Regions from separate parts of the Homo sapiens genome. Here region 1 is linked to region 2. The links are contacts of gene promoters, found by promoter capture Hi-C in blood cells and fetal thymus (Javierre and others, 2016). All regions are on one chromosome and are shown on one strand. Each heading gives the region's core, a stretch centred on a gene start or on the middle of the fragment in contact. The rest is flanking DNA. Distances are from core to core; before and after follow the strand shown. Region 1 overlaps ADARB1 (adenosine deaminase RNA specific B1). Region 2 holds the start of COL18A1 (collagen type XVIII alpha 1 chain).

Region 1 (2,700 bases), core at 193-2,692, 260 kb before region 2:
GTCTGATGTTGATGTCCCATCAGATGGTTTGTATTCAGCAGAGCACCTAGACCAGGCTGTGAGGTACAGGTCCGCCCCTGGCAGCCCATGCCTTGTAGCTTCTGGGTGGCTCCTGGCTTGGTTGCTGTGGTGTGGAGCGTTGAGTGACCTCTGCAGAACAGCAGATGGTGCTGTAGGGCCGCTTCTAAGACTCAGTGGAGGAGGCTCAGTGGCGTTCTGAGCGGTGGCCACCAGGACAAACCTCTTGTCTTTACACCATCTGTGTGTGTGTGCGTGAGTGTATGTGTGTGTGCATTCCAGTGTGCGTCCAGAAGCCAGTTTCCTTCAGAAAGCTTTCTGTTCCCTGGCTTCATTTTTACCATTTAGAGGACCTGTGAAGCAATGAGATGGAATACTTATAGCTGGTTTAATTCAGTGAGTGATCTGAATTGTAAATAAAATTTTATCAAGTAATTTATAAATTTGATATAATAAATTAAGTCTGCGGAAGGGGCTGATTGTGTTATGGAATGAGAAGTTTTGTACATCTTTTGCAATTCTAAAAATTGTGGCCAGGTGTGGTGCTCAAGCCTATAATCCTAGAACTTTGGGAGGCTGAGACAGGAGGATTGCTTAAGCCCAGGAGTTTGAGACCAGTCTGGGTAACATGGTGAACCCCTGTCTGTACAAAAAATAAAAGTAAAAATAAATTAGCCAGGCATGGTGGCACATGCCTGTAGTCCCAGCTACTCGAGAGGCTGAGGTGGGAGAATTGCTTGATCCCAGGAGACGGGTGGCAATGAGCCAAGATTGTGCCAATGCACTCCAGCCTGGGCGACAGAGCGAGACCCTGTCTCAAAAAAAAAAGTTGTGACTTTGCTGTGTAGTCTTTGTGTAACATAATTTTATGATTCTATTGTTTTAAGCTTAATATTCCAAATAGGTAATAATTATGTTAAAATGCAAAAAATTAGCCTATACTCTCATGATCTAAATATGTAGTAGTGGTTTTACAGAATATATTTCAAAGGATTGCCATTCTGTTTTATTTTTAGTAGCCAGTTATAGAAAGCATTATTTTTAAATAATGCCTAAGAATCTTTAAAGAAATACCTGTCAATGTATGTTCCAGTTTAGTATCAAATTTATATTCAGAGCTCATAAGAATTTAAAAAGTTTCCCAGAGTCTGTAAATGGGGATGGAGCTGTCCTTCAAGGGTGATAGTCCCCCTAGGTTTGAGTTGTCCTCTGCTGCTAGCATAGTACCACCTGAGCTACCTGTGGGCCACCTTCACCACCCGTGGGTCCCTCCAGCCACCCCAGGGACACCTTAGCCTCCCTGGGTCGCCTTAGCCACCCCTGGGCCATGTTAGCCACCACAGGATCACCTTAGCATCCCTGGGTCACCTTAGCCACCCCAGGGTCACCTTAGCATCCCTGGGTCGCCTTAGCCACGCCTGGGCCATGTTAACTACCACAGGATCACCTTAGCATCCCTGGGTCGCCTTAGCCACCCCAGGGTCTCCTTAGCCATCCCAGGGCCACCTTAGCCACCTGTGGGTTACCTCAGCCACCAGTGAGTCACCTTAGCTACCCCAGGATCACCTTAGCCATTTGTGGGTCACCTTACCCACCCTTTCACCTTAGTCACTCATGGTCAGCTTAGCTGTTTGTGGGTCACTTAGCCACCCCTGGGCCACTGTAGCCACCTCTGGGTGTCCTTAGCCACCCCCGGGCCACCTTGGCCACTCTGGGTCACCTTGTCTACCCCTGGGTTACCTGAGCCACCCTTGGTCACTGTCTGTGGGTGCTTGCTTGCTTTAAGCCACATTATGCTACTGCAGCTAATTAAGGTCGCTCAATTCAAGTGTCTCCTTTTTTTGGGCTCCTGCCTTCTTTTTGTTTTTCAAATCGAACACCCGCTATACTCATTTGAGAAGTGTAGACTTTGATTTTTAACCCTAAGTTGCATGGTAAAGTCACCTTTAAAGCCAATGGAAAAAGCTTAATTGAATTCATTTGTTTGAAGAAGTAGAGGAATGTTGCAAGTAGACTGAAAGTTATACTTAGTCTGTTCTGTTTGAAACCATTCTCATTCAGAAAACAGAAATGTGTTTATGTAAAGAAATATGTTACTTGACTTAATATTGTAAGGAATCTTAATTGAGAAAATAAGTAGTTGTGTTTTTTCTTTAACTGGGCAGCATTGTAGCGGGGTGGAGTGTGGGTCCCCAGGTTGGAGAGCTCTGGATTTGGAGTGGATCCTAGCACATGGCCACCATGTGACCTTGGGCAGTGACTCAGCCCAGCTGGCTGCCAGGCTGCTCCCCATGAGGTGGTGGGAGCCGTGTGGGATCTGCCTACTGGGTGTGCAGCTGCTGCGGCCTAAGCGGCGTCCTTGCTTGGTCCCCCCATGAACTCAGGGGTGTGGCCTGGCTCCGTCATGTGTTTTGCAGGGGGATCTGAGGGGCCCAGAAGGTAAGAAATTGCCTACGGCCCTTGGCTAATAGAAGAGGGAGCAGGGCTTTGACCAGGGGGACCAGCTAGTGACTCTGTGCTGGTTACTACTTTACCAACACCATGGCCATGCTGCACAGCTGTGCAGCCTCCACCCACAAAGGCCAAAGCTCCAATGGCATCTGCGATGCTTGTAAAACAAGTAGCAGCCGTGTCCAGCCTGCTGCTCTGAAACCTCAGTCTCCTTTACTGAGATTTGATGAT
Region 2 (2,700 bases), core at 124-2,623:
CCACTTCTACTCTATGCTGTTCTCCTTAATCTTTTTATTTTTAAAAAATGTGGGTCATAATCCTTTACATTGATTTCCTTCCTCACAGTGCACCGCAAGCACTCAGGGAAGGACTCCAGGTTTGAAGGCAGATGCTGGTCGGGACCCGACCAGGTGGCTGGGCGGGAAGAGGTGAGATCGGGCAGGATTGGGCCTGGGAAGGCTGAGGCAGGCAGGGATGATGCCAGCAGAGGAGAATCCCAAGCAGGCCCCGCGGCTGCGGCTGGAGAGCTCCAGGGGCGGAGAGGAGGTGGGAGGCAGCAGTCAGGTTGGGAGGACCCTGGCAAGCAAGCCCAGAGAGGAGGGCCGGGAGGGCCGGGCACTAGAAGTGTGAAGTCACTGCTGCCTCCTGGGGCTGCTTCAGAGGATGGGTGGGGCCACGTGTGGGGAGATCAGGGAGACTGGAGACTACGCTGTTTGGTCCAGGCATAGGAGATGAGCCCTGGCCGGGAAGGGACAGTGTGGATGGGCCAGGCGGAATCAGAGGGTTTCAGAGAAAGCCGTCAAGCCAGTGCCATGAGTTTCGCGCACACGAGGAGGGAGCAGGCTGGGGGGTGTTGCTGGTGTGAGGGCTCTCTGGTTGCAGGGAGCGGTCCGGTCGGGTGGGGGCACAGCTGCCAGGAGGAAAGCGCCCAGGGCCTGCAGGTGGGGCTCAGGATGCTGGCCCTGAAGAAATAGAAACAGGGTTTTCACCTGGGAGGGAGGAGGAGCCTGGGAACTGGGGAGGAAGAGGCTCTGCTGGGCCGCGCCCTGGGAACAGGGGGACCTGGGGACAGATCTGGCCCTCGCACGCCCCTCCTGTCTCGCGTCCGTCCCTCCGTGCAGCCGGGGCAGGACCCTGCAGGGGCCTTGCGGGCCGGAGGTGCCGGCTTCCTCCTCCGTCCCGTCCCCCCCGCGGTGACTCTATTCAAATCTCCCCCCTTCCCGCTGCCCCACCGGACTCAGGGGCTGGGGTCGTAGCCCGGCGGGCAGCGGTGTTCACCTTCCGCATAAACCTGGGCTTCCTCGCGGGGCAGCCCCCGGGCCCTGTGCTGGGTCGCAGCCTCGGGCGGTTCCCTCGGGGCGGGACGTGTCCCCGTCCGTCCTCGCCCGTCCCCGCCGCCCCCGGGTCCCGGCCCGCCCCGTCCTCGCAGCCGCAGGTCCGCTGCGGCGCCCGCCCCCCTCTCCCCTCCCCGGGCCTTGCCCTGCTCGTCGCTCCGCCCCCTGCCCGGCCCCTGCCCGGCCCCGCCCCGCGCCCGCCCCCTGCCCGCGCCCGCCCCGCCCCCTGCCCGGCCCCTGCCCGGCCCCTGCCCGCCCCCTGCCCGGCCTCCCAGCGGCGGCGGCTGCAGCGCGGCGGTCCGAGCGGGTGCACCGCGGCGGAGGAGGCAGCATCCCGCGGCGCTGACGGTCCTGGGGAGAGCATGGCGCCGAGGTGAGGCCGGGGCTGCGGGCAGGGGTTGGGGGACGCCAAGATGCGGCTGCGGGGGTCGCGGGGGTCGCGGGGCTCGGCCGGGTCCTGCGGGGGTCGCGGGGGTCCTGCGGGGTCTGACCCGTGCCTGTCCCGCGCAGGTGCCCCTGGCCATGGCCGCGGCGGCGGCGCCTCCTGGACGTGCTCGCGCCCCTGGTCCTGCTGCTCGGGGTCCGCGCGGCCTCCGCGGAGCCAGGTAAGACCCGGGCGGGACGGGAAGGTTCGCGCCGGTGCCCGCCGGCCTCGCCGCCCTGGCTGGGGTCCCCGCCCGGCTCCCTCACCCCCGCCCCGGCCGCTCTGGGTTCAGCCCCGGCCCTGCCCACGCGCGCAGGAGGCGCCGGAGCCGGACGGAGCGGGGCGGGGTGGCCGGAGTCCCGCCCATTCATTCTCCCCGCGGGGTCCGGGCCGGGAGGGGTGCGCGGTGCGAGCGGCCGGAGTCCCCGCGCGGGGACCGAACCTCCGCGGCCGGCGGGGTCGTCGGTGCCGGGAGGGCTCGGGGCGGGGCCGCGGGGTCTCGGGAGACGCGGCCTCTGTCGCCGTCACGGCCTCGTCCCCGCAGCGCCGGGTCCCGGGACTGACCGCGGGCGGAAGGCGGCGGAGCGCGGGGCGTCGTCTCCGCGTTTCCAACCTGTTGAGGCTCCTCGCCGCGGGCCGGGCCTTGTGCGCCTCTGTCCCCGCCGCCCTCAGGCCTCTGTCCCCGCGCCCGCCGTGGTGTCGGGTTGCGCGGTCCCCTTTGATGCCAACCGAGCGCCGCGCGGTCCGAGAACAATGCCCAGAAGCCGCTGCCCCGCCGGCCTCGCCGCTTCCCGTGCGCGGCAAACGGTGCGCGGGGCCCGTGGGGACCTTCCTGCCTCCAACCCCGGGACCCAGTTCCCCACCACCTGCTAACCGGGGCCTCCTGCCTCCAGCCAGCCCAGCAGAGGCCCGGGGGAGGCGGCGGGGACGCGGACCCCAGGGGAGCCCCGCCCAAAGGGCCTGGGTGCCTTGTCGCGGGTGGAATCCCACCCGGGGGTCCACGCAGCCAGCGCCTGCCTCCGACTCGACTCCACACCTGCTTGCTACAGCGGGTGAGGAAGCAGGAAAGGGGGAGGGAGGGATGTCGTCTGGATTCCTGTAATAATTTGTTTCATTGTTTCCAATCGACTTAGTCACCAGGTTAAATAGTAGCATAGACCTTTCAAAAAAGTAGCTAGCTTATAAGTAGATGTATTGAA

The links. Contacts are between HindIII fragments. The CHiCAGO score rates a contact against its expected background, and 5 or more counts as called.
Region 1: a fragment that was not itself captured here is called in contact with the fragment with the promoter of COL18A1 in region 2 in 4 of 17 cell types (endothelial precursors, erythroblasts, megakaryocytes and 1 more); the score reaches 7.1 in endothelial precursors.

Annotation. Positions count from the first base shown.
Region 1 is chr21:45,140,360-45,143,059 of GRCh38, forward strand. All of the region lies in intron 2 of ADARB1 (adenosine deaminase RNA specific B1), which reads left to right. Among named protein-coding and RNA genes, the nearest start is that of ADARB1, 67 kb to the left of the region's middle. The HindIII fragment of the contact is 1,078 bases long and covers 904-1,981 here.
Region 2 is chr21:45,403,792-45,406,491 of GRCh38, forward strand. It overlaps COL18A1 (collagen type XVIII alpha 1 chain), which reads left to right and starts at 1,374. Exons shown (of 42, transcript NM_001379500.1): 1 at 1,374-1,450; 2 at 1,588-1,682. The coding sequence starts at 1,440. It overlaps BNAT1 (breast cancer associated ESR1 regulating natural antisense transcript 1), which reads right to left and starts at 2,571. Exons shown (of 2, transcript NR_183526.1): 1 at 2,376-2,571; 2 at 15-705. RefSeq lists an enhancer at 529-1,229. The HindIII fragment of the contact is 21,482 bases long and covers 1-2,700 here.